3 separate regions of the Homo sapiens genome follow, and all the other regions are linked to region 1. The links are contacts of gene promoters, found by promoter capture Hi-C in blood cells and fetal thymus (Javierre and others, 2016). All regions are on one chromosome and are shown on one strand. Each heading gives the region's core, a stretch centred on a gene start or on the middle of the fragment in contact. The rest is flanking DNA. Distances are from core to core; before and after follow the strand shown. Region 1 holds the start of MYLIP (myosin regulatory light chain interacting protein). Region 2 overlaps LOC124901268 (a long non-coding RNA gene). Region 3 overlaps ATXN1 (ataxin 1).

Region 1 (4,769 bases), core at 187-2,686:
TGGTACGTATCAAAGCAAACCCAACGGCTCCCTGAGGCTAAGATTGCTGGTGCTTTTTACAAAGTTCAATGGTGTTACAATTCCTGATCTAAACTGGAAAAACAAAGTTCCACGGCTCCAATGATACCAAACCACGAGCTCTAGTATGGAGGCTCATAATTCCTTTTAACGTCTAGGGCATGACCAATTGCAATAGAGAAAAAAGGAGTCCTCAAAAGTAGCCTTCCAAAAGATGAGGAGGGGAAACTACAGGGTATTTTCCTTCGTATTCCAATCACCGGAATTCCCTCCACCAGCATACTCTGCACAGCTGATTTTTGGCGACTTATTATCTGGGCAATTTTAACCATTTGGACTCCAAAAATCAAACACATTGAGGGAACACGCCACAAGTGTCAGCTAAGCTTCACAAGCGGTTTTCCAAACATCTCAGAGCTAGAGGGGTTGAGGGCACAGCGTTTTCCTGGGATCACATGTGCTGTCTGCCATACCACCTCTGCACTATTTGGCACCGATCTCCCTCACTGTTAAGGAAACACATGCTTAAAAACAACCGAGCAGTAGATGACCCAAACCTATTCCTCCCGTCCCCCGCAAACCCGGAGATGCAGGTGAACGGTGCATTTGAGAGCAGCAGCCTGAGAAGCAGCGTGAGACAAGGGCCCGGCTTGTCTGCCAAGAACCCCTGGGGCCCGAGACTGCTTCGAGCCACTCCATCCCATCCTGGCACGCGGGTGGCACTGCCAGGCGCCGCGGGGACCCGACAGGCGGCATCACGCACATACCTGCGGCAGGTGTGCGGAGCCGCCTTCTTCCGGGAAAGTGCTGGGTTGGGGGGATGATGGGGCGCTGGGGGGTGGATCCCGGCTGCGGGCTGCGCCCGGCCCTCAGCGCTGGGGACCCCCGCTGCGCGCTTTCTCCGCGCACCCCACGCGCGCCAGGAGGAGACCGCGCGCCCCACGCCCGTGGAGAGGAGGGGACGCGCTCCCCCCGGCTGCCGCCGCAGTGCCTCCCGGCCCCTAGTAGGGGGCGCGCCAGAGTGCCAGGCGTCGCTGCGAGGCCCCTCGGCCTCGCGGGACCCGCCGGGGCCCCTTCTTGCCCCTCGCCCTCACCTGGTTGAGGCAGTCCTCGCCGTTGGCTTTCGCCTCCACCTCCACCTCCATCAGCACCGCGTCCGGCCTCGTCACATAACACAGCATGGCTGGGGCTGCCGCTGCCGCCACAGCCGCCTTCTCTTTGGTGTGCGCGGGGCTGCCGCCTTGTCACTGGTGGGACCCAGCCCCGGACTCGGAGAGGGCTGGCCCTCGAAGGCTGCAGCTCTGCGGACCCTTGTCCGGGGCCCCGCGGCCGCCACTCGCGTCCCCGCCACCCCCTCACCCGCTGCCCGCCAGCTGCCCCTGTCCTCCGCGGTGGCGCCGCACTCCAGCAGCCCAACTGCCTGCGCTGCGACAGGGACTCTGCTGATATAGCGGCCCCGCCCCCTTCAGCTCGGGTCCCCGCCAATCACGGCCTCCCTGCCCCTCCTCCCCCGCCCGATCAGCCAATAGCGGCGCCCCTCGACCGCGGCCCCCGCCTCCCAGAGCCGGCTGAGTTTCCCTGGCCGCCCCGGGAGGTGGCAGCTTGCGGGCGCCGAGTGCTGCGGGAAGGGAGGGAGACCCCGGAACACACCAGCCGCCTCTGTCCGCTGGGCGACGCTGCTCAGAGTGAGCGATCGCCCGGGGCTCCAGGCGGGGACGCCTTTCTGCCGTCTCGAATTTACGGTGATTAAACACCTCCAAGCTGCCACTGTTCTTCAAATATCTTGGATCACTCTGAGCACGCATTTCGGTTGTGAAAGCAAAAAGGAAAAGGAGCAACCCAAAGCCTAAAGAAAACTGTTCTCGTCCGGGCATGGTGGCTCACGCCTGTAATCCCAGCACTTTGGGAGGCCGAGATGGGTGGATCACCTGAGGTCAGATTCGAGACCAGCCTGGCAAACATGGTGAAACCCCCGTCTCTACTAAAAATACAAAAAAAAAAACAAAATAGCCAGGCGTGGTGGCGGGCACCTGTAATCCCAGCTACCTGGGAGGCTGAGGCAGGAGAATCGCTTGAACCCAGGAGGCGGAGGTTGCAGTGAGCTGAGATTGTGTCACTGCACTGTAGCTTGGGCAAGAAGAGCAAAAAACCCTGTCTCAAAAAAAAAAAAAAAAAAAAAAAAAAAAAGAAAAGAAAAAGAAAAAAGAAAAAAAAAAGAGAAAAAGAAAACTCTTTTCCACCAGGATTAGCCACAGTGGGTTGCTTGGAGGCAGAATTGTTGTTCCTTATTAAGACCTCATCATTGAGAAAAACAAAATCTGAGTATGAAAGTTTTTGCAGCTGACCAGTGAGCCAGGTGTCTTGGTCTAGTGCTGGTGTGTTACACTCCGGAAGGGCTTCTCCTTACTCGTTCTGCTGAATCAAAACGCCTTACAGGGTACCAGGCCCTCTCTCAGGTTGCTCATTCTACCTCCTGTCTTATCTCACTCATTCATTAAACATTTGTGCAGCACCTGATACCCTGCCTGTCCCTTCTCACAGGCAACCAGATGTTGTCCTCGTCTTAAGGTAAGGTGCTCATCTCCTGACCTAACAGGTGGCATTACTGCAATATTAGCTATTAAAGGTCTACAACCCTTCACTCATTTACCGCTTGTTCCTCTTTGCCAATATATTACATAGCCTACCTTTTTGATTTCTTTATAGGAGCCAGATGATGTGGGTTTCAGCCGTGGAAACTTAGCAAACTTACTTCAGGCCAGCTCGATGGCTCACACCTGTAATCCCAGCACTTTTGGAGGCCGAGGCAGGAGGATCGCCTGAGCCCAGCAGTTTGAGACCAGCCCGGTTTCGCAACACAGCGAAACCCCATCTCTACACAAAATACAAAAAATTAGCCAGGCGTGGTGGCGCCTGCCTGTAGTCTCAGCTACATGGGAGGCTGAGGTGGGAGGATCACTTGAGCCTGGGAGTTCGAGGCTGCAGTGTGCTGTGATCCCCCTACTGCACTCCAGCCTAGGCGACAGAGCAAAAGACCCTGTCTCTAAACAACAACAACAACAAAAAGAAAACAACGAAAGAAAAAAAAAGAGAAAACTTACTTCATCTGTCTGAAGCTTGGTGTTGTCAACAGTAAAATGGAGATGGCAATATCTGCTCTGTCTCCACCCAGCATTGTTGGGAAGCGCAGCAAAGATAATAACGTTCACAAAAGCATTTGAATGTCCCCGTGTATGTAAGGGGAGCTATAAGTTCAGTGCCTTCACTGCTTAATGATGACTTTTCCTGTCCCTACCCCCCTTCACGAGTCCCAAGGATCTGTTAGTGGCCTTTATTTCCGAACAACCAGGTACGATATCAGAGCCCAAGGCTAAAAAAAAAGGAGGGATCCTCCCACACACAGTTCTTTGCTAAAGCTGACCGAGTAAAACTGTAAACTGTCCAAGTCCTAACCCCCACTGTTGCAGAGGAACAGGTGCACTCTCACATCTTTCTGTCTTATAAATACACCTCATGCTATTGTGGGCTGAAACAGTCCCTTCTTGTATTAACTGCAGTGCCTATTCCCTGAATTCCAGTTTACTAATAATCTGGGGAATTTATCTGGAAGATAGCGTTTGGTTCATTCCTTGTCTACTTTATGCTTAATTGCTAGAAGTTTCAGAAGAGGAAGAAGAGGCGAGGGGCAATAGGGAGACCAGTTATATTGGTTAGTATTTTTGTTTATGAACAATAGAAACTAAAGCTGGCTAACTGGAAACTCATAGAATCAATGGGACCAGGTGTGGAAATGAGTAGAACGGGAAAATATTGGTTGGCCAAGAAAAAAAAAATAAACAAAAATAAAACAAGCAAACACCCAAACCAAATACCCACTTTGTGGACTACTTTAAAAATAACTTATATTTTTGGTTTTAGCAGGGATTTTTCTTTTGCAAGTATGATTTCATTGTTTTTTTAAAAAATCTAAGCTTGTAAAATAGTTTGTAGAAGCATAGGTAAAATCTGACATGTTTATTTTATTTAAAACTTTTTGGCCAGGCGTGGTGGCTCATGCCTGTCATCCCAGAGCCCTGGGAGGCCGAGGCAGGCAGATCCCTTGAGCCCAGGAGTTTGAGATCAGCCTGAGCAAAATGGCAAAACCCCATCTCTACTAAAAATATAAAAAATTAGCCAGGCATGATGGCATGTGTCTGTAGTCCCAGATACTCAGCGTGCTGAGGTGGGAGGATGGCTTGAGTCCAGAAAGTCCAGGCTTCAGTCAATCATGATCTCACCACTGCACTCCAGCTTGGCCGAAGGGAGTGAGACCCTTTCTCAAACAAAACAAAAAACAAACAAAACCCCACATTTTTCATAGTTTTGTTGTTGTTGTTGTTGTTGTTTAGACAGAGTTTTGTTCTTGTTGCCCAGGCTGGAGTGCAATGGCATGATCTTGGCTCACTGTAGCCTCCGACTCCCTGGTTCAAGCAATTCTCCTACCTTAGCCTCCCGAGTAGCTGGGATTATAGGCACGCGCCCCCACACCCGGCTAATTTTTTGCTTTTTTAGTAGAGACAGGGTTTTGCTATGTTGGTCAGGCTGGTCTCGAACTCCTGACCTCAAGTGATCTGCCCGCCTTGGCCTCCCAAAGTGCTGGGATTACAAGTGTGAGCCACCGCCCCGACCTATTTTTAACAATTGTCATTTGCACAATAGTTGGAAGTAGAAGATTTACAAGAATTTTTTTTTTTTAATTTTTTTTCAGAGAC
Region 2 (4,769 bases), core at 1,435-3,934, 640 kb before region 1:
TCTTTAGGTTCTTGTAGAGCAACCTCATACCAAAAGTATGAGGAAGACTAGGTGAAGAGATCTGGGCTGCCATGTGTGTTTGTGATGTTCCCTGGAGGACTCAGGATTCATAAATCAATGGACCTCACTCTCTTTAATCTTTGGGAGTTATATGCATAGTGTCAACATTTAATAATTATAACTAGGGCTCGGGGGGCAATTTGAGATAGTATGTTGCAAAACATCACCAATGAGACCTGACATGTGAGAGAATTTTCCTGCACTAAGAATGACAGCAGATGCCACATTGAGGAGCTGCAAACTGGGAGCAAATCCACTCCATCCTACTATGAGCCCTTCCTGTTTTGTCAGCTAGCATGGTTTCCTAAATCTCAAATTGCAGCAGAACTGTTCTGCAATTCCATGGCTAGCTATTTCGGGAGCCTAACACAGCAGGACAAATGTGCACAAGTCCACACAGTATGACAGAAGAATTAAAAATGTATTTACCATCTGTTGGTAGTTTCCTTGCGGGTCTCTTTTCTTTTCCTCTCCTGCAGCCACAAATAGGGTCTTCTCACTTCCTTCCAACTTCAGAGAGCTGGGTTCTCTTCACATCTCTGCAAATGCAGGGCTTGGTTTTTTTTTTTTTTTTTTTTCTCTTCCTTTTTTCTTCTTCAAATTTCCCAGACTGTTGAACTCTGGTCTATTTCAGCTTCTAGAATCATTTCCCTCAAATACAAAGTGGAGTGAGGCTGTGAAGAGGTTACAGTGTTTTGCACATCTTGTGTGGCCAGGCTACTTTCAGACACTATGCTTCGATTCTGGTCACAGAGGACTCTGGGAAGCTTGCGGGTAGAACAGGAGAAGTTCAGCCCAGAGTAACTGAAGGAAATTAAGTCATTAAATTAGCCTTGAGAATTCATGTTGGCCCTTTACGATCTCCTTCGTCCTTACTGTAATGGGATACTTTAGACAGGACTTTAATAGGAAAGGGTTCTAGGGATTCAAGCATGAACCTCAAGTGAGAATCATTTCCAGCCCATGTAGCAGCATGAGTAAAAATTATAAGCTGGAATAGAGTTCTGTTAGTTGGGAAACCACTTAGGTTGATCTGAAGCCAATTCGCTTATGGAGAAATACTCAGTTCTCAATGAGCATCACTAGCTTTAATTTCTGGGATACAGGTGTTATTCACAATTCATGTATAATCCAAAAACTAGAGATTGGATTAAAAATGGTCCCTTAGCCAAAACATTGCAATGCAGTGTTATGACTGTAACTGTCCTATTTCATTCAGGTAATGACTTGTTAACAATTCTCAAGCTGCATAGGTGGATAACTTCACTTTGAAACCAGTGCTGGGTGACCCTGAACTTTGGGCAGGTCCTTTAAACTCCAAGCCTCAGTTTAATCACCTAATAAGTGAGAATCATGATCTCTATCTCACAGTATCATCATGGGGATGAAATGAAATGACATCTGCAAAGCCTGAGTGTGAGACTCAGTTCATTCCAACTCAGCTTTAATAGTCATGTCAGACACTAAGGCAAAGGTCAAGTAAAGAGAACATATATTATACCATAGTGTGGACCAGATGGATTAGTTTTGGATTAGCTCCTAATGAGATAATCATTGTGTTGGGGGCTGACAGAACTTTGCACATAGTAGGTTCTGGAAAACATTACTGATTAATTCATTTAATAGTCAATGCCTATTTAGTGGGTGTCTATCATGTGCCAAGAACTATTCTAGATGAATGAGCCAGACAAAAAAAAAAAAAAATCTCTGCCCTCCTGACAATAAACAAACAAACAAAGTAGATGACATAGAATGTTATAAAGCAACACATTTATGGGATAAATGAGCAGGGCAAGGTGGATCGGGAAAGTGAGGGAGTAGAATTTTTAGTAGGGTGTTCACAGCAGGCCTCACTAGGAGGTTGATTCTTAGAAAAAATAACCTGAAGAAGATGAAGGAGTGGGCCATGCGAACACAAGAGGGAAAAGCATTCCAAGCCGAGGGAACAGCTAATACAAAGGCCCTGAGGCAAGAGAGCAGCTGGCTTATTTGAGGACCAGCAAAGAGGACAGTGAGGCTGGCAGTGTGGGAGCAAGGACAGGGATAGATGAGATCAGAAAAGTTGAGGACCTGATCGAGGCCAGCCTTGTAGGCCATGAAGGGCTTTTACTTGACCTTGGGGGAGCCCTTGGTCTCTGAGCAGAGCTGTGGCATCAACCTAATGCAGGCAGTAGACTGGTGTGGGCCGGTAACTGGAGAAGTAAGGGCCAATTTAGGAGGCTGTCGCAGTAACCCTGACGAAGGACGGTGGTGGTTTAACTCCAGTGGTAGCAGTCCCAGGGCTGAAAAATGGTCAGATTCTGGATATGTTTTGAAGGTAGATTTAACTGGATTTTTGGCAAATTGGATGTGGGGTCTGACGAGAGAGTCAAGACACTGCCAGCGGTTCTGGGCTTGAACAGGTGGAAAGATGGAGTTGCCATTTTCTGAGATTTGCATGTAAGAACTGCTTTATCCATCTCAAGAGGACTTCCTTTGTATTCTGGCTTCAGTGTGAGGCCTCCCCTTCCACTCGCTCAGGGAAACTTCCTGAAACAAATGAGCTTCTCGGTTTTTTTTGGTTTTTTGAAAAAGGAGAATCAGAAAGACCAAGGTCTTCATAAGCACTTTGATAACACTCAAATAGACAGTAAAAGAAAGCCAAACAATTAGCATTGTATTTCCTCAATATCAAATTAATTTAGTTTTTGCGGTCTCTTCTTCACCCCAACCCCACCCACATGCTGGAAGACTACTTCTGAAGAGGGAAGCTGCTGGTGCATCGGGCGCCCAGCAGAGGGAGCTGAGGAGGGCCGAGGAGGACGCCGACACCAGCTGACGCCCCGTGCAGGAGTGTAATGTACTTGTGCTCTCTGAGGCCTGGAGCCAGAAGCCAGATGTTTTTCTGGGATGACGAGGAGGCGGTTCTAGAACTCTGTAAGTTTTCTATTCCATTAGACCTTTTCTTTGTTTATTGGTATTGTCATAGGTGCAAGACCAAAAGTACATCCAGAACAGATTACCTAGGAGTATCTGCAGCAGGAAGAGGTAGGGCCATATACGTAAATAAAGAGAAGAAAGGAGAATCCAACAGACCTGGAATCATGGATCTCATAAGGAGGGTGCATTCGTCTCCTAGGATGGCTATAACAAAGTACCACAAACTGGGTGGCTTAAAACAACAGGTATCTATTCCCTCCCAGTTCTGGAAGTTAGAAGTCTGAAATCAAGGTGTCAACAGGGCCATCCTTTCTCTAAATGCTCTAGGAGAGGAGGCTTCCTTGCCTCTTCTAGCTTCTGGTGGTTGCTAGCAATCCCTGGCATTCCCTGGCTTGTGGCAGCATATCTCCAGTCTCTGCCTTGTCTTCACATGGTCATCTACCCTGTGTCTCCTCTGTTTCTGTGTCTTCTCTTCTTATGAGGACAACAGTTGCATTGGATTTAGGGTCCACCCTAAAACAGTAAAACCTCATCCTAACTAATTACATCTGCAAAAATGCTACTCCCAAATAAGGCTACACTCATAGTTACTGGGGTTAGGACTTCGATGTATCTTTTGGGGTCACAATTCAACTCATAACAGAGGGCAGTGGAAAGTTACATGAAAAACTGATCAGTGGAGGGGAGTCACATAATTGGAGCATAAACAAAGGAAGCGCAGTTGCACGCTGAAACTGTAAGGGAGGTCAAATGGGTTTGGGAGTAGCAGGAAGTATTCAAGTAAGAGAGCTCCCACTTAGGATACTCTCTCCATCTGTGCTTATGGCCCTGTTTTTTTCGGTTAGAGGTTTAAAAAAATATTGTATAAATAAAAAGAATAAGAAAATAGCACTTCTCTGACTCACACATTGGGCAGAGCCGCAGACTCCTGTGATAATCAAGAAAGACTTCACAGAAGTGTTGATGCTTGAGCCGGATCTCAAAAGCATGAGGATAAAATCTCCATGCAAAAAAAAAAAAAAAAAAAGGAGGGAGGAGAAGAAAGGGCTTTCCATATAGAAGGTATATGCACACGCATAATGTTATTTAAATGATATCTCCTTCACCTCTTTAGGTGGGGAGTAAAGTCTTTAAAAGGCAAGGCTCTTGTTGTCTATTTAACCTGTATTACTCAGACACAGTATTTAAACAATGAAGGGGCAAAAATGTTTCTGGTTTTAATAAATGCACAAATAAGCACATGATAACCTGGAAGAACACTAGGGGCATATATCAGGAGGAGTTAATTATTGGACACATTTGCCAAAGCACAAATATGGAAACCCCACCCTCAGCCAGATCTGGAGAAATCAAAGAGTTGAATGTGGTATAAATTCCTTTGCCCTGATTGCATAAGGAGATCTGCCAACATTTTTCCCTTTGATATATTCCTTTCTGTACAAAGGGTCGAACTGGGTTCTTAAAAACCCAATCATGAACTAAGATATGCAATTCTGAATCACCATTGCGATCTAGGAAAATTAACTCCTCGCTGATCTTCCCAGATAAGCACCCAAGCTTGTTGCCTCCAAGATCTGCATCAGGGTCTGGCTAGTTTCTGTCTTAGAGCAACTCCCCTTTTTTGGCATAAGAATGTACAGGATGCCAGCGAAGTTCACACTGGGTCGTCTAAGTCTCTTTAAAGGCCTGATGATTCATTGCTGGGGGTTGGGGTGAGAAGGTAGTGAGGGGAAAGGAAGTGCTAAGCCAAGGGGCGGAGCAATATAATTATGAAATTGACAGCAGGAAAA
Region 3 (4,769 bases), core at 985-3,484, 630 kb before region 1:
AGTCCAAGGACGCACATTTCTTTGAATAATGTTGTGCCTTTATTGTTTTTCATTCTGAAATGTCAAGTGGATTTTACTTTTTTGCACATACCTTGAGTGACAGTTTCTGATGACTAACACTAACACTCATTTTGTTTCCTATTAAAAGTTAAGCAATAAACATATTTTACTAAAATTCTGAAACTCACGTAAGTAGGTAAATGTGGGAGTGAATGTTAATTCTTTAAACTGTAGTTATCTGAAAATAACACATAGATTAGGATCTGAACAGCTTAAATACTTGCATCGGTAAAGTGACAATAGTGAAGTAAGACAGGCTATTATTTTTAGGGGAGAGATAGATTATTTGACTTTCCTTGCTCTGTATTTTCAGAGTAATTCAATAGTTCGAATGATTAGTTTCTGTGAGAGATTTAGATCTGTGCAGCTTAATTGCTTCAAATAACAGATTTAGTTCTGGTCATACTTCCAAGGTTATCAGAAGCAGGCCCTCCTTATTTTGATAAAAGCATTGAAAGCAATACATTGTAGAAATGGTAATAGAAATAATAATTTCTGTTTTAGGACCTTACATATAGAACTTCCTTTTCTAAGATAAGAATTTTAAGTCATCAATTATGTTCACATTTTATTTTCATGTAATTTAGTTTAATAAAATAAATGTACTCATTCAAAATTTTTTTAAGAAGTGATATACAGTGTCAGTTTTACAGAATTTTTTAAATGTTGGCTGAAAGAACGGTAATTACATTGAGATTTTTAAAAATATATAAATGCTTAAAATTACAGAAGTAATAAAAAGAATGGTTTTAGACAAATCTTATGGAAAGTTTTTTATTTTATTCTTTTATAATTATATTTATGGATATTTGTCTTTATTAGTGTAGTAATATATTTTATAACGCTCATAATTTGAACTTTCAGGCTAATGTACTATAAATATTTGTATTACGCATTACTACCATCCCAAATGTACCAAAACACGTTTAGAGAGAACAATTATGGACAAAAAAGCAACAAGCATTATATTTTGTTTGACATATTTCATGTTAGCAGAAATGTTTCATTGATTTTTCTGTAACTTTTAATGCATCCCATTTGTGGAGTAATGAAAATGTAATGATAATTGCCACAATGTAAGCAAAAATTGTATCCTACCTGAAAATTACTTTCCAGAAAATTCATGGTAGTGTACTCAGAATTTGAGACTCAAGAGGGCAGAGGTTTCCCCGATTGTGATGTTTTGATTTGGGCTAAGAGGAACTCTTTTTTTTTTTTTTTACACTTAGGTGCCCTTTAACATGACAAGTTTTGAATGAGTTAGGTAGCAGAAGTTTTTCGTGACAGTTATTGTAGCTACTAACCTATAGCATCTATCCTTCTAACGTTCAAAGAAAATATATTTTTCTGTCACTGTGTATGGCAAACTTTATTTTCTTGTGCCCTTAATTTTGTTCCCCTTTCTCACATTATCTCCTGGTACTTACTGACCATTACCTCAGTTTTGTTTAGGCCGTCTTTCTTGTTAATCTTCCAATATTAATAGTATTGTATTATGTTGCTCTGCTGGGTTTTAAAAATATTGAGTATTCCATTTTTGGTGTATATTATTGTATAAAATGTCCTATAAATTATTTTCTGGTATATTATTTTGTAAGTTTTTGCAGTGAATACGTGCTGCCTTGCTTGTATTCTTGCCTTCTTCCCTCTGATGGAATACAAGTTATGTAAACTCTCTGTATTATCCTAACTAGTGCAGCAACACAAATACTTTTGAAATAAGAAAGCATACTCATGCAAGAGTAAAGTAATCTTCTATGGCATTTACATCATGTTTGACCCTCCTCTGCACTTCAGCAAACTAGGAGGAGGTTGTAACTTGGACTCTATAAAACCTTATCTGCCAGGTGATATGTAAACAGGATTGTGTGCACACACATTGTCATATAGGCAAACACTCTCCCAACTGGTGAGCTCATAAAAAGCACTGTCTGTAAATTTATGGTACCTGCACCTCATTTGAGAATCAAGTATTTTGATGCTTAATTTGAGATGACATCATGATCCTCCCTCCCTGCTTCCTCATCCTTAAAGAAGTACTAAGATTAAATAGAATTTTGTCAACTTCTACTTAACTTGGCCATTATTTATATTTGTAACTCAACAGGCTTCTTGGTGGAGGGACTGTGCCTTCTAAAGATCTGAAAGACCTTATAGTGTATAACAGCTTACCTTCCTTCTCTGTACGCACAGATCACATGTGGGGAAACCAAGGACTACAAGAATTCCTTCTTTTGCATATCAGTCCTCGGCAGGCAATCAATGCTTAAATAAATGCTTGGTGAATGGATTAGTTAGAAGTAAGAACATTTTGGCTACTGTTCATTACTTTGAAAAGTGCTGGAAAGAAGTGGAAGTTATTTTCCTTTCCAGCTGGGCTGTGCTCTTAAAAATAGTGAGTGTGTATGGATGAAAATAATCATGAGTACCGAGATGTGTTGCCATGTACCCAAGGATAATTGGCTCACTTACCTGTTTACGGATTATTCACATTGGAGATCATATTCATAGCTCCAGAATAGTTTCTTTCTGACATCCAATATAAACCTGGGCCTCCTTCTTCCTACTGTTACCTGGCGTGAGCTTAGGAAACCCAAACTAAGTTTAAAATCAGCCTAAGCAAATGTGCAGATCAGCTCCAGTAATCAAAGACTGAAAATCAGTCCAGCATTCACTAGTTTGGGGATGATTTTATAGTAACCCTGCTACTGATTTTAAAAAAATTTTTTTTTCTGTTTAATGTGGATAATTGGTAATTACCGGTATTTAAGAATATAATTTTAATGGATAGGGCTAAAAAAATACGTTAGCAGATCGAGTCCTCAACTTCTTCCGTTTCTATGCATAGGTTTTACCTCACAAAAACTACTACAAGCACCAAGCTCCCTGATGGAAAGGTATATGGAAGATTCATTCATTCTTTCTTTCATTCATCCATTCACACATTCACTCATTCATCATACAATGGAAAATTTTTACTTAACCATGTGCAAGGAATTGTGGCAAAATGAAAATGAGATGTACATTCAGTATTTAAATAAAGTTTAGTGGAAAGTTTAGTGAATATAAATGCACACTTTACACTTTTTTTCTGCATTTTTTCCTTTCTTCTATTCCATTGGACTGGTATGCTAATAGCTGTGCACTTTCATCATTGTGTTTCAAGTTGCATGTTGATAGATAATATATGCCACATTAAAATTAGGCTTTGGCTCAATTACTATTCAATCCATGCCCATTTTCACCTGATACTCCTTGTAGTTACCAGCATGTGTTTATCAGATGATTGGCTAGAATCATTGGAGAAAAGAATGACAGCGGCTGGCTCAAATGGGGAGACCATCCTCTTAATTTGATGGAAGGGATGACCTTTTTGTATGTTGGCCTCCCTCTGAGCCTTGTTGAGTAAAACCAGACCTGCCTTTTGAGCTGGCTGGGATCTGTGTAATTCTCATACAACAGAATGCCGAATGTGATGTTCTTAAAATTTGTATTTCGGTGCATAGACACTTAAGGTGGACTTATTTTTTAAAGCAGTCTATTCTGTTTTTCATTTTGGATTTCCTCTCCTGCACTCCCTCGACCATTGCAGGAGCATCGTGCATCAAGTCACCAGGGTGGTCCATTCAAGCTGCAGATTTGTTTGTCATCCTTGTACAGCAATCTCCTCCTCCACTGCCACTACAGGGAAGTGCATCACATGTCAGGTGAGAGTTTTGCGATGCTCTCTGTTTTCCATCTGAGGATAAAGTCCTGACCTGGAAAATTGCCTCCTAGCCATGCTCCCTTACTTTGTTGGCTGTTGAATATCATTTTCTTTGCAAACTCTGTTTGGGCATAGTGTGGGAAGTTGAGAAATTGCCAAGATTGTTTTTTAAAACTTCGATTAAAGTATCTATCTATTTGGTTTAATCTATATGTTCATGAAGACTTTCATTTGACTTTGCGATGATTGATAATTGCCAATTGGGGCTTGAACCTCATCATTTTAATTGTCAGTTTTCCTTAATACAATTAAGAATGCTATGCTACCAGATATCTTAAGTCACAGTTTTTGCATTTTAGATTACTGTTGTAGTATAATATGTGCGTAGCAAAACAGAGACCTATTTGTTTAGGGGAACCAGTATTTGTTGAATCTTGAATTTCTTTGTGTCTGTTTGGATTTTACAACTTCCTGATTTTCCCACGTACAGTAAGTTTTTCTGGCCTGGAGAGTCATGCAGACATAGGGTGTATGCAATGGTGATGACTCATGGTTCTCTATTGAAGAAAGGGCCAGAGGATATTGCCTCAAATTAAATCAGGAAGGAAAAAGAGGTTTGCTAGAACTTGGGGCAGTAAGGGCTTGGGAACACAAGGGTTTGAGTGTATGTAACCAAGGGAGATTGTGAAATAGAAAATAGGGGATCAATTTCTATTTGCCTTGGAAATGGACCTGCTTGAAACTGTGAAGACAGACTAGATTAGAGGTTCCCAAGCCTGGCTAGGCAACAGAATCACCTGGAGAGCTTAAAAAAATAGAATTTGGAGCTCCACCCTAGACTTGATGAATCAGAATGTTTCCTGCTGGAATCATTGATCTGTCTAGGCACTGATGCTCCACAGGTTTGGGAACCCCTGGGTCGGCCGGTCTTCCAGCAACTCTTCCTAAGTTATGTTCTGTAGACTTAGTTGGTGAGAAGCTCATTCTACTTTTAGCAAATCTC

What was found. The method cuts DNA at HindIII sites, captures the fragments that hold promoters and counts their contacts. A CHiCAGO score of 5 or more calls a contact.
Region 2: a fragment that was not itself captured here is called in contact with the fragment with the promoter of MYLIP in region 1 in 2 of 17 cell types (total CD8 T cells and non-activated CD4 T cells); the score reaches 5.3 in total CD8 T cells.
Region 3: a fragment that was not itself captured here is called in contact with the fragment with the promoter of MYLIP in region 1 in 1 of 17 cell types (fetal thymus); the score reaches 6.9 in fetal thymus.

The regions. Positions count from the first base shown.
Region 1 is chr6:16,125,753-16,130,521 of GRCh38, reverse strand. MYLIP (myosin regulatory light chain interacting protein) reads right to left here and starts at 1,436. Exons shown (of 7, transcript NM_013262.4): 1 at 1,113-1,436. The coding sequence starts at 1,199. RefSeq lists a silencer at 755-1,754. The HindIII fragment of the contact is 2,730 bases long and covers 407-3,136 here.
Region 2 is chr6:16,769,215-16,773,983 of GRCh38, reverse strand. It overlaps LOC124901268 (a long non-coding RNA gene), which reads right to left. Exons shown (of 2, transcript XR_007059480.1): 1 at 490-4,769. Among named protein-coding and RNA genes, the nearest start is that of ATXN1, 10 kb to the right of the region's middle. RefSeq lists an enhancer at 4,572-4,769. The HindIII fragment of the contact is 3,709 bases long and covers 830-4,538 here.
Region 3 is chr6:16,752,231-16,756,999 of GRCh38, reverse strand. ATXN1 (ataxin 1) reads left to right here. Exons shown (of 8, transcript NM_001128164.2): 2 at 3,653-3,767. Among named protein-coding and RNA genes, the nearest start is that of ATXN1-AS1, 6.5 kb to the left of the region's middle. The HindIII fragment of the contact is 8,416 bases long and covers 1-4,769 here.